Regions from separate parts of the Homo sapiens genome. Here region 1 is linked to region 2. The links are contacts of gene promoters, found by promoter capture Hi-C in blood cells and fetal thymus (Javierre and others, 2016). All regions are on one chromosome and are shown on one strand. Each heading gives the region's core, a stretch centred on a gene start or on the middle of the fragment in contact. The rest is flanking DNA. Distances are from core to core; before and after follow the strand shown. Region 1 has its middle 130 kb from the start of MB21D2. Region 2 holds the start of ATP13A4-AS1 (ATP13A4 antisense RNA 1).

Region 1 (7,150 bases), core at 940-3,439, 510 kb before region 2:
CTGTCTCCTGGGTTCAAACGATTCTCCTGCCTCAGCCTCCTGAGTAGCTGGGACTACAGGTGCGCACCACCATGCCCAGCTAATTTTTGTATTTTTAGTAGAGACGTGGTTTCACCATGTTGATCAGGCTGGTCTCGAACTCCTGACCTCGTGATCTACACACCTCAGCCTCCTAAAGTGCTGGGATTACAGGCGTGAGCCACTGCGCCCTTTCTCTCCCTTTTCTTATAAGGACACCAGTCATGTTGGAACAGGGCTTCACCCTTACCACCTCATTGAACTGCAATTACCTCTTTAAAGGCCCTTTCTCCAAATGCAGTCATATTAGGAGTGAGGACTTCCGCATAGGAATTTGGAGGAAACACAATTCAGTCTATAACACTCAAGACACTTAAGTGAAAAAATGTATGTCATAAGCCATGTTTATAATGTGACTTTGATTTTTCAAACACATACACATGTATACAGAAGACAAATAGTGTGGAAGTTTACATGTCAAAATTTTAACAGTTGATATTTCTAAATTGTGAGATTATGAGTCACATTAATTTACTTTCTACTGTATTGCATTTTCCAATTTTCCATAATAAACTACCATTACTCCTTTAGTTAGAAAAGAATAGATTATAAGTAGCACAAAATACTTTTTAAAAAGCTTAAAGTTTTTTCAAATATATTAACATATTTGATCTCTGTAACAATGCTATGAGGCAAGAATGGGAACAATGTTTTTGAATTCATACATAACAAAATTGAGGCTCAGAAGAGTTAAGTCATGTGGCCAAGTAGCCTAATAATCAGAATAGGTCTTCTGAGTATTAATCCAATCTCTCCATTATACCACAATTCTTTAAAATACCTTCCTTCAGCCTGGGTGTGGTAGCTCACACCTGTAATCCCAGCACTTTGGGAGGCCAAGGTTGGATAATCACTTGAGTGCAGAAGTTTGAGACCAACCTGGGTAACATGGCAAAACGCTGTCTGTACAAAAAATAAAAAAAATTAGCCAGGCATGGTGGTGTAAACCTGTAGTCCCAGTTACTTAGGAGGCTAAAGTGGGAGGATCACTTGAGCCTGGGTGGTTGAGGCTGCAGTAAGCCATGATCTTACCACTGCACTCCAGCCTGGGCAACAGAGTGAGACCCTGTCTCAAAAATAAATAAAACAATAAATATTAAAATATCTTCCTTTAATAAACAAAGAAAAATCTAACAATGCTCTTTATTCCCAACAATTTATTAATGACACATATGAAAGTAGAAGAAATAATAACAATAACAGCAGTAATATGTTTCATGGAGATCGTTTAAGCTTAGTCTTAAATTGAAATATTTGGGATAAAATATATATAAATATATAGTGACTTGGAGATCATTTAAGCTTAGTCTTAAATTGAAAGATTTGGGATAAAAATATATATAAATATACAGTGACTGGGTATATACCCAAAGGAATGTAGGTCATGCCATCATAAAGACACATGCACATGTATGTTCTTGCAGCACTATTCACTACAGCAAACACATGGAATCAACCTAAATGTCCATGAGTGGTAGACTGGATAAAGAAAATGCAGTACGTATACACCATGGAATACTATGCAGCCATACAACGGAGGCCATTATCCTTAGCAAACTAATGCAGGAACAGAAAATTAAATATTTCACATTCTCACTTATAAGCAGGAGCTAAATGATGAGAACACATGGACACATAGAGAGGAACAGCAGGCACAGGGGCCTACCTGAGGGTGGAGGGTAGGAGGAAGGAGAGGATCAGGAAAAATAACTAATGAGTATTAGGCTTAACACCTGGGTGACAAAATAATCTGTACAACAAATCCCTGTGACATAAGTTTACATAAATAACAAACCTGCACATGTACTCCTGAACTTAAAAGTTAAAAAAAGAAATGTAAGTTTCATACAAAAAAAATGAATAAGTAGCAACCTGGGATGAAAATTGTCACTGAGTTTTTTACTCCACAGCACGTTCTTATTGTTGTCCATCTATGAAGATGAAGCATGGAGACTCCTTTACGAGACTCTACTGGGTATTTCAATAGGTATTCCTACCTGTGAGAATGCATGCATGGACCACTCCTCTAGGCAGAGGCTCCTCATCTGGAGGAGTGAAAGGAGAATTAGGGAGACAAGAAATTATTACAAGAGTTCCAGAGATCTTGAAGTATAAATATTTTTTCATTCCAGGCATGTAAAAAATATGGCCACAGTTATGTATGTGTGTGTTGTGGGATGTGGCATGGTTCTGCATATATGAGGTGTTCTTTTGTTGAAGAAGTTGGGGATTATTGCTATAGATCAATAATATTAAAAATCCCATTTATAATATATTATTTTCCACTCTCCCTTCCTGTAATAAAACCAACCATCCCAACAATCACAATATAAATGGATGTTTTCTGAGACGAATTCAGTTTTCTAGTTGTGAGTGAGTTGAACTCAACCAGCTTCTACCTGCAAGATATGTTGCAACTGCTTTGGACCTCACTCTGGGGAAGCGAAGATGGGGTAGAATAAAGAACTCTCTAGAAAAGTAGCCAGAGAGACTGTTCTTCAAGAAGCAACATCTGTTCAGCACCTATCACAGACCCTGGATTATATGTGGTGAAACTGTTTTTTGCCTGTGGTTTGTGGATGGAGCTTTGGGGCCAGTCATCAATATCTATTTCAGCGGTCAGAGCCTCTTTGCTCTGTGCTAACTAAACTTCATCCAGGTTTTTGTGGTACTCTTGTGATTTGTGAAATGACAGACACCTGGACTAAAAGGAATGACAAAATATATTTCAAGACTTTCAAAAGGGTTCCATAGTTTGATGCCAATTGTCTTGAGGCAAGCGGCTGGGCATTCCCTTCCAAGGAGGATCGTGAACAGCTGTCAGGCCTAATCTGGGTGAGAGATGAAAGGGGTGACCTGCGGGTTAAAGTCTCCACTGCCTGCTGCAAATCCCCCGAGTTATCTAATCTGTCCAGCGGCACAAGCTTTCTGCAAAGAAAGCATTATTTTACAGCTGACTCTTTAACAAAGGGGAAATAACAACTGTTAGAAAATGTAGTAAGTAGTTGTCCTAAGATAATGCTGCTTGAATAAATTCTATAGAGTTTTTTTAATTAAAAAATCTTCAAAAGGACAGATAAATATCAGAAAGCCCACATGGACTGTGTACACGAGGCATTGCATTGCATTATGGAATATTGTCTAGGTTCTTTTTGTGTGGGTGTGTGTGTGACAGAGTCTCACTTTGTTGCCCAGGCTGGAGTGCAGTGGCACAATCTTGGCTCACCGCAACCTCCACCTCCCAGGTTCAAGTGATTCTCCTGCCTCAGCCTCCTGAGTAGTTGGGATTACAGGCGTCCACCACCATGCCCAGCTAATTTTTGTATTTTTAGTAGAGACAGGGTTTCACCATGTTGGCCAGGCTGGTCTCAAACTCTTGACCTCAAGTGATCCACCTGCCTCGGCCTCCCAAAGCGCTGGGATTACAGGCGTGAGCCACTGCACCTGGCTGTCCAGGTTCTTACACACACACACACACACACAGACACACACACACACACAGAGAGAGTGAGAGAGAGAAAGAGAGAGAGAGAGAACACCATCAGCCTAAAGTCCTGTACATGGGCTAATTGCCTCTAACCCAAAGTCTGCTTGGGATGATTGGTGTGATGGTTAATATTGAATGTCAACTTGATTGGACTGAAGGATGCAAAATATTGTTCCTGGGTGTATCTGTGCGGGTGTTGACACATTTGAATCAGTGGACTGGGAGAGGCAGACCCACCCTCAATCTGGGTGGGCACCATCTAATCAGCTGCCAGTGTGGCTAGAATAAAGCAGGCAGAAAATTTGGAAGGACTAGACTTGCTGAGTCTTCCAGCCTTCATCTTTCTCCCATGCTGGATGCTTCCTTCCTTGAACATCAGACTCCAGGTTCTTCAGCTTTTGGACTCTTGGACTTAACACCAGTGATTTTCCAGAGGCTCTCAGGCCTTTGGCCACAGACCGAAGGCTACACTTTTGGCTTCCCTACTTTTGAGGTTTTGGGACTTGGACTGGCTTCCTTGCTCCTCAGCTTGCAGATGGCCTATTGTGGAACTTCACTTTGTGATTGTGTGAGTCAGTACTCCTTAATAAACTCCCCTTTATATATACATTTATCTTATTAATTCTGTCCCTCTGGAGAACCCTGACTAATACAATTGGTGTCTCTGCAATATTTGTGCAAATTTGAGTAAGTCTTTCTCTGGGCTGCAGTATTGTCATTTGTAAAACAAAACAAAACAAATAGCCAGAAAGAAAAGAGAGGATTTGGATTAGATGGCACATCCTTGGCATACCATCATTCTTCATTCTTGCTCCCATAACCATCATAATTAATTGATTATGGCACTTTCCACCAACCTCATGCAGCCTCAGAATTCCCAACAGCAATTGTTCTGAATTAGCATGTGAGAGGAAATACATTTGCTCTGCTTACAATTGAGTGATGCCTGTGGTCCTCTTCATCAGGAGTCTCAGAAGGCTGAGTGGCATAGCTCATGGTGGTACCTCTGGCACAGCACAGTACAACTAGTATCAATAGGATGGAGTGACAACAGCTACAGCAAGATTTTTTGGGAGAAAATATTGAGTTTCAGAGATGACATGTGTTACTCATAAGAAGAGGCATGCACATCAGATCCAGAACATGAGCAGAAAGAGAAAGCTACTACAATGGAGAGAGAATGTTTATCGGTGTACATCCCCAGTGAACTCCCAAAATTCTGGGGAAATGGGAATTTGAAGAGTCTGCAATAGCAGGAAAGGGTAGAGTTGGTGGATTTTTTTTTTTACTTTGTTAGTTTTTTCCTTCCCCCTTTCTAAATCTAGGCTGATACAGTCTGATAAAAAGATTACATTTATATGACTAGTTGTATAATTACTAACATAAGAATCACAGCAAACAAATTTTTTTTAAACAAAATCTTGGTATGTTGCCCACGTTGGAGTGCAGTGAACATTCTCATTTACAGGTGGGATCATAGCCACGAATTTTTGGGTTCAAGTGATTCTCCTGCCTCAGACTCTTGAGTAGTTGGGACTAGTGGCACATACCACCATGCCTGACTTGCAGAATACATTTCTTAAATAGAATTTTAAGATTTGGAGAAGACCCTAGAGATCATCTAGTCTATCAGTTCCCAAATACTTCAACTTGGACCAGATCCATGCTGGCTTCATAAGATAACTCTAGAGCTTGTTAATAATCTGATTCCTGAATGAAGTTCCCAAAGATTCTGCTTCAGTAGGTTTGGCAGGTTTTTGTTTTTTTTTTTTGAGATGGAGTCTCGTTCTATCATCAGGTTGGAGTGCAGTGGCACGATCTCGGCTCACTGCAACCTCTGCCTCCTGGGTTCAAGTGATTATCCCGCCTTAGCCTCCTGAGTAGCTGGAACTACAGCCGTGCACCAGGGCAACTGGTGCACATCCTCAGGGCAACTGTGACCTCACCACTTCTGAAATATTTTCTGTTCTTGCTGTCTACATATTTTTGTATATAGATACACACTTACTTGTTATTTAGCCATTTCCTTTGTGTTTATTTTGTATCCCCAGTTAGGTTGAAACTTCTAATAGGACAGTATCATATCTTAGCCACACCCAGCTAATTTTTGTATTTTTAGTAGAGATGAGATTTCACCATGTTGGCCAGGATGGTCTCAAACTCCTGACCTCGTGATCTGCCTGCCTTGGCCTCCCAAAGTGCTAGGATTACAGGTGTGAGCCACTGCGCCTGGTCTGGCATAGTTTTAACAAGGTCACTAGGTAATGGCAATGACCATCAAGGTTTGAAAATTAATGATCTAGTCATACTTCATCATTTAAAAAATGTATGCTCAGGCAGAATAACACTTCTTCATTTTTAAGATGAGAAAACCAAAGTAAAATTAGAAAAAATGAGTTGCCCAATATCACACAGCAACTCAGGTACAAATTTGGAAATGGAATCTAGGTTGTCTGACTGCCAGTCCCATGCCAAGGGGCAGGCTAATTCTTCTGGGGTTTCTTGAAACAAATGGCCAGTCATGTCAGTGTGCCCAGTATTTTAATAAAGCCAGTAATGCTGATATGGAACAGGCTCCCTTAGAAGGTAGTGAGATGGTCAAGTGTAGGACAAATGCTACCTAGAAGGACACCTGTAGATAAATGCATCAGATGGGTAGGTAGAATTTACCTTCCAGTTTTATATAAAGCTATTCTCTGCCAACTCATTTGTTAGAAGGCTGTGAGGAATTGAGGCCGTTTTTTTAAACACAAAAGCTTAATTTCTAATTATGAAAGGGAAACTGGGACAAGGACAGATGACCTATGGCAGTGATTTGAGCCTCTGGAAAACTGTCGCTCTTTAGTCTAATTCCTCACCACCTCTCACCTCATGGTTACTGCATCAGCTCTCTGACTGGGATCCATCCCACTGACATATCTCCAAAATACATTCCACTCACTGTTGCCAGAAAGATCTTCCAAGTGCACGGATTCCATCACGTTATTCTGCTGCAGAATCTTCAGTGACTCCCAATAGGGCAAAAGTCTAACCATCACATTGGCAGTCAAAACCTTTTTATAATGTCACTCTTATCCTATCTCTGAAAATTTTTCTCCTAGTATGCTGAACATCAACCCTGTTTGAGTCCAAATAGATTTTTACATTGTTTCTACTTTTTTTTTGAGACAGAGTCTCACTCTGTCACTCAGACTGGAGTGCAGTGGCGCAATCTCAGCTCACCGCAACCTCCGTCTCCCAGGTTCAAGTGATTCTCCTGCCTCAGCCTCCCGAGTAGCTGGGATTACAGATACCCACCACCATGCCCAGCTAATTTTTGTATTTTTAGTACAGTTGAGGTTTCACCATATTGGCCAGTCTGGTCTTGAACTCCTGACCATGTGATCTGCCCGCCTCGGCCTCCCAAAGTGCTGGGGTTACAGGCGTGAGCCACTGCGCCCGGCTTGTGTTCACTTTTAATGGCAACATATTTTCAAATTCCTTCGCAAATGCTGTTTACCTTAAAAGGTCCACCTCATATTACTTATTCATTAAGAAATACTTAATGTTCACTAACTACATGCTATGCACTGGAGATTCTTAGGA
Region 2 (6,539 bases), core at 1,756-4,255:
GTATTTCCATGATACAGATAAATTAGGTGCAAATAATCTCAAAAGCACAGATAAGTATGAAGATAGAGCAAAATAGTTAGAAAGTGGTGAATTTTAGGTTTTTTTTTTTTTTTTTTTGAGACGGAGTCTCACTCTATCCCCCAGGCTGGAGTGCACTGATATGATCTCAGCTCACTGCAGCCTCAACCTCCTGGACCAAAGCGAGCTTCCCACCTGAGCCTCTCAAGTAGCTGGGACTACAGGTGGATACCACCACATCCAGATAATTTTTTTGTATTTTTATAGACAGGGTTTCACTATGTTGCCCAGGCTGGTCTGGAACTCCTGGGCTCAAGCAATCTGCACGCCTCAGCCTCCCAAAGTGCCGGGATTACAGGCTTGAGCCATGGCGCGCAGCCTGCATTTTTTATTGACATGTCTGGTGGTAAACTCATGAAGCATATTTACTTCATTCTTTAGATCCTTATTTGCCATTTCAATATTTTTACAATAAACATATGTTACCTTTATAATCAGAAAAGAATTCAAAGGTTTTTTTATTTTTTGTCTTATTTGTTAAGGCCTAGAGAAAAATATCAGGGAACGTTACTTTTTAAAAGTCTCACTGGAACAAAACACTTCCCCAAAAGATTGATTGTGTTAAGGTGTAACTAAAGAGCAATGTTAGAATCAATTAAGCCATGATACCTTCGTTCAGCCATGGTATAAGGAAATGGTTCTAAATTCCTTCAAAATAGAAATACAAAACGTCAGGACTCAAAGAGATTTGTGCTCCCAGACATTCTCATACTCTCACTTTACAAATAAGGAAGCTAAAAAAGGTAGGTGTTTTCCCAACGTATGCACAAGGTAAGTAGAAGATAACCCAGCTCCTCTCCATTTATAAGTGGTCTCTACGGCCTATGAATAAAAGTACATATTCCTGGCCAGGTGCGGTGGCTCATGCCCATAATCCCAGCACTTTGGGAGGCTGAGGCAGGTGGATCACAAGGTCAAGAGATTAAGACCATCCTGGCCAACACGGTGAAACACCATCTCTTCTAAAAATACAAAAAATTAGCCAGGCATGGTGGCATGCAGCTGTAGTCCCAGGTACTCGGGAGGCTGAAGCAGGAGAAACACTTGAACCCAGGAGGCAGAGGTTGCAGTGAGCCGAGATCACGCCACTGCACTCCAGCCTGGCAACAGAGCAAGACTCCGTGTAACAAAAAGAAAAAAAAAAAGTACATATTCCTTTTGGTATAACTGAATGGCAAGAGATGACCTCATTTTTGTGGGATAGTATTTACTCAATTGGTTAATTGCTAAGCCCTTGGCTTTTCCTACCTTTATTTAGATGATAGCAGCTCACACCTCGCCAGAACTGTTTACTTCTCAAAACATGTTTATATGGATTATCTCCACTGATCTTCATGAGAACTCTGTGAGTCTGGTGGGGGTAAGAAGGACCAGTCCTATTTTACAGGTATAAAAACTGAGGCTAGAGCAGGCAAGCGGCTGGCCCAAGGCCGGTGAGAGCCAGGCCTCCCGTCCCGTCCCAGTGCTCTCCCAGAGTTTCCTCCTCGAAGCCTTTCTGAGGCAGTCATTTAGGTGAACCTTCGCTGAAGGCCACTTTCTCACCTTTCCTTCCTTCTCCCTCCAAAAGCTTCTTTCTACCTTTGGGTCCTGTCTCATTTCGCAGTTAAAGATATTATTTTCAGGTCACCTAGGGTTGCTCTTTAGTTCCTGTTTGCTTTTGGTTTGTTACTTGTTTATTTATTTATTTTTATCTATTTACTTATTTTTGAGACAGAGTCTTGCTCTGTTGCCAGGCTGGAGTGCCATGGCGCGATCTTGGCTCACTGCAACCTCTGCCTCCCAGGTTCACGCCATACTCCTGCCTCAGCCTCCCAAGTAGCTGGGACTACAGGTGCACGCCACCCTGCCTAGCTAATTTTTGTGTTTTTAGTAGAGATGGGGTTTCACCATGTTGGCCAGGATGGTCTCAATCTCTTGACTTGGTGATCCGCCCGCCTCGGCCTCCCAAAGTGCTGGGATTACAGGCACGAGCCACCATGCCCAGCCTGTTTTTGGTTTTTTAACTCCAAAATGGAAGATAATCCCAGGCATCTTTAGGCCTCAGAATATTCTTCTTTATTTGACATGAGGTCTAAACCCTAGCATGTTGTTTTCTCTTGAAATTTGAAGTAATTTCTACCACAAGAGAAATTACGTTTGCAAAGGTTCAAGTAAAGTATATTATAAAGCATGAAACTAAACACTTTGGTGTGACACATTTCTGGACTTGGAAGTCAGAGAAGACAGACTTATTTAAGCTACTCGAATTATCTAGAAGAAAAAAGAAACTCAAATTATCTATAACAGAACAGATGCTGGGGAATCTAAGAAGACTGGATGTTGATGTTCTCCTTAGCTTTGTTTTATGAAGGAAGGGAATGTGTTCTGTTAAGAGTGGAATGTTCTCCGGAAGAACTGGAAAAGGTATCAGTGGGCTATGTTCAGGTCCAGAGACAAAAGAGCTGTCAACTTAAACTAACCTGTGCGGTGCCTCAGCTCCTGGACTTACTGGTTGATGCAACCTTAGGGAAAGCCTGTGTGCATCAATTTCCTCATCTTTAAAGTTAGAATCACAGCATCTACCTCATAGGGTTGTGAGGAAAACTAAATTAGCTAGTGGCCAAGAAAATGCTGTGTATACTAAAAATCACTACAAAATATGTAGACTATATATATAGCTTGATAATTTTTAAAGTTTACTGCTCTGGGCAAGGGATGGAGGAGTGAGTTAAAAAGGAACACAGTGTCAGACACAGCAACAGGCAGGTGGCCAGGTTTCTGTAGGCAGAAGAGGATGGAGAGCTCAGGAGTGCATACTAATTGCTGCACCTCTGCTGAGACTACTGGCCAAATGGCTGCCTACCAGAAAACACAGTGTCCCTTTCCATATTAAAGGGCCTCTCCTAACTGGGCTTTCAGCTGCATACAAAACTACGTGGAGTTCTCCATGCATCTGATGGTGCCATTATGAAGATGAACTGTTAACTAAATTGCTTTGGTGGAATATGTATGCTAGGGAAGAGGTAACAGTTTCCCTACAACCATGAATGTCTTCTGGAAAATAAATGATTCTTATTGAGACTTGAAAGACAAATTGTCTGAGAGCAGAAAGGGGTTTACTGGAAAAGAGTGAGTGTATTTCTAAATGAGAGAGAAAAAAAATGTTTCAGAGGAAGGAGCCCCTGCCTTCTGGTGAAGAGTATTCAAGATGAAGATAAACTTTTCAACTTAATATCGAGAGTAATGAGATATTCACTTCCTAAAGAAAACTCTTTAAAGAAACAAAGATGATATCCAATGTGGGCTAGCAAGCCATTTCTGGTGACATTTGTGGAGGGGCTGAAGGCAATTCATTTGGCAGTCAAATCTGAATGAAGTAAAGGATATGGTTAAGAAAGGCACCTGAATTAATGTACATTTTACTTCTTTATAATTTTTTCAGCTTTGATAGCAGAAGGGATCTACTCTTGAAAGTCCAAAAAATGTTGTTGCTATAGGAACAGGTAAGCAGATTAGACTTGAAAGACCAGTTTAGGAACAAAGAATGTAATAGTCAGGGCTAAAGCAATTAACCAAGAAAACATTTTAAGTAAATATCTTTCAGGTTTGTTATTTACATATTAATTCCAGGAAGATTAAATGCTATTATGGAATGAGAGCGTCACATTTTAACATTTTAATTACATCATTACTGGCATAAAAGACTATGCTTACACAATTAGCAGAAAGATCTTATTAAACAGAAGTACATATTTCTAACTCTCTCTTGATTATATTGTAATTGAGAAATACAGTTTTAAATTCATCCTGAGCATGAAAGTCATCTTTGATTTTCCTATAGTTCTCAAGATAGAAGCACATCTAAAATCAAAGAGATACTGAACTACCGAAAGTTTTCTGTAACCAATCTCTATAATGAGGAAGCCACAAAAGTAAAATTCTAGAAGAAAACAGAAATGTGTGTAGGCTGATAATTGTTAATATTGCATGTCTTCCCTGTCCAACAGACTCGGTGAACAAGACATTTGAGAAGAGAAGGTCAAAGACCCAGCTGCACTTCTGCTTCACTGCTGAACTTCTGCTTCTTCCTATCAGGGAATACACTGCTCCTCACATTAGGGATTTCCTAAAATTGTTAGGTGTTTTGAACAGAACTGGCTATACCAATGAGGCTCAAACAAGAATCATAAAGTGCATGGTGCTTCTCTCCCTCTCTGTTTTCTTTAAAAAGAAAACATTCTTGACAAGATGAATACAATATTTTCATTCTAGCAAATTTCTGCTGTCAGAGGTTATATTTACAGGATAGAGAGATTTCTCAAACATGACCTTTTCTCGTGTAATACCAGAGTGAAATTTTAGAAAAGTCTGTGTGTGTGTGATGCGTGCGTGTGTGTGTGTGTGTGTGTGTGTGTGTGTGTGTCTCGCAGGCTGAGAAGTGGGATGGGAAGAAGGGAATGTGGCTAGAATCTTACCATCTCATTCTCTTCTCCTTCATTGAGCAGAGCGTGCTGGCCCTTCTCAAAGTGTCCCATGAAAAAGTTATTCCACACCTCCTCCCTGACCTTGTCGTGCAGACGCTTCCAGGATGAACTCCAACTCGCCGAGCCACCGCAGCTCCTCAGCTGACTAAAAGAGTTAATGATCCTCCAGGTTAAAACTCCTCCTTGAGCACACACCTTCTCTCAACAAATGACAATACTTGGCAAACTGAACTCCTCCCACGAGTCGCCCTCTGCTAGGAGGAATTGCTGGCTGCTCCCTGCTTATTGCATTCTCTCAGAGCAGCTGTCTCAAAGGAGGCTGCTCCCATGCCGATCTTTTTGTGCCCAACTTACAGGGAAAGAACTCATTGCCTGCCCAGTGCCTGCCAGCCTCAGACTTCTGACTGCAAATCCAACAGGACAATACAGAGTTGGCAGGACCCTTCTCAGGAGTGAGGAGCGGGTGCAAGAACTCCCAGGTCACTGCTTTATTCAGAGGACCTAAGGAATTGGGTTGAGCGGAAGCGCACAGAGCTGCAGATTTTCTTTGATGAATGAAAGCTTCAATCCACAGGTTTCTAATAGTACTCTCATTCATTTTGCTTACAAAAGGTACAGATTATCACTAATCCTCTTCAAAAGGTATTTGTAATCACATTTCCTTGTATATGCAAAAAAAATTCTATTTAAAGTGTATGTGAAATTAAGTTTACTTTTTTGAAACACATGTAGAAAAAGAACAAAGGTATCATCAAACTAGTCTATGTAGTCTCCTTTCACTAAAATATTGATGGTTCAACACTTAAGGAAGTCTAGAAATAAAATATTCAAATGACTATATGGCCAGACTCTTTTTTAATTTGTTTACACATTTATTCAATAAACAGTGCCTGAGCACAGGGACTACCTAAAAAAGTTAAGTCATATTTGCTACCCTCGTGTTGATGTAAGGATTCAAACATCCAAACAAATATGATAGAAAGTGGATTGTTATTATAAGAGATGGAACAGAAGTCTAAGAAAACTGTCAGAAGTCCCAATGTGGTGTAGAGAAACACACCCCTACCCTAGCTCTGGCAAAATACCTGTATTCCAGCTGCTTGTCTGCACTGGCCTTGCTGTGTGATCATTTAACTATAGGAACCGGCTCTTCTCATCTGGTACCGCCCGACAGGACTTTTGAGAGAATGGAATGAGATCATTGTGAAAGTACATTGTACAGCACTGATCAAGTGCTGTTAGGATTATTAAACTAAATGTGCATTTGAACAGTAGGTGTTAGGACATAGTGGCTAAGGGCATATACACTAAATTTGGAAGGCCTGAGTTCAAATTTGGACTGTACTAGGTGGTCGTTGTGCTACCTTGGGATATAACAAGTTATACAAACTCCATTCTCCTCTATTTCCTCACATGTAACATAAAGATGATGATAATAGAACCTACGTCCTAAAACAGACTTTTAAGAAAGAGTGCCTGGGAAATAATAGGTGTTCCACAAAAGATAGTTATTTTTACCTTCACCATGTCCACTGTCTGTCCCTCAAGCTACATTGGCAATGATATCTCCAACCTGACCCAAATAACCCTAATGTGACCAAGATCAATGTGTGCATGTGTGTGTGTGTATATGTTGTATGTGTAAAACCTTGAGCAAATAGTGAAGTATAGGATAAACATAAAAAGTAAGCTAAGTAAACCCATTGTAATAGTAATTACAAAATATATATGTACGTGTGTGTGTATGTGTGTGTGTGTGTGTATATATATATGTAGTTCTCTTGGTTTCAAAAATTTGCTAGCACAATTTAACCAAATAAATGAAAATAAAATTAACATTTTATCACAAGGTCAAAATATAAGGAGTAAAGGGTTTATGGGGGGGGTAATAAAAATGTTCTAGAACTACTGATGGCTTCAAAAATTTGTGAACATACTAAACCTCACTGAACTCTATACTTTAAAAGGGTGAATTTTATGAAATGTGAATTATATCTC

The links. Contacts are between HindIII fragments. The CHiCAGO score rates a contact against its expected background, and 5 or more counts as called.
Region 1: a contact is called between a fragment that was not itself captured here and the fragment with the promoter of ATP13A4-AS1 in region 2, in 1 of 17 cell types (M2 macrophages). The highest score is 5.7, in M2 macrophages.

What each region holds. Positions count from the first base shown.
Region 1 is chr3:193,043,643-193,050,792 of GRCh38, forward strand. No RefSeq gene overlaps it. Among named protein-coding and RNA genes, the nearest start is that of MB21D2, 130 kb to the left of the region's middle. The HindIII fragment of the contact is 1,622 bases long and covers 1,379-3,000 here.
Region 2 is chr3:193,550,208-193,556,746 of GRCh38, forward strand. ATP13A4-AS1 (ATP13A4 antisense RNA 1) reads left to right here and starts at 3,006. Exons shown (of 2, transcript NR_121666.1): 1 at 3,006-3,080; 2 at 4,563-5,377. ATP13A4 (ATPase 13A4) reads right to left here and starts at 4,688. Exons shown (of 30, transcript NM_032279.4): 1 at 4,533-4,688. The coding sequence starts at 4,592. The HindIII fragment of the contact is 3,457 bases long and covers 1,644-5,100 here.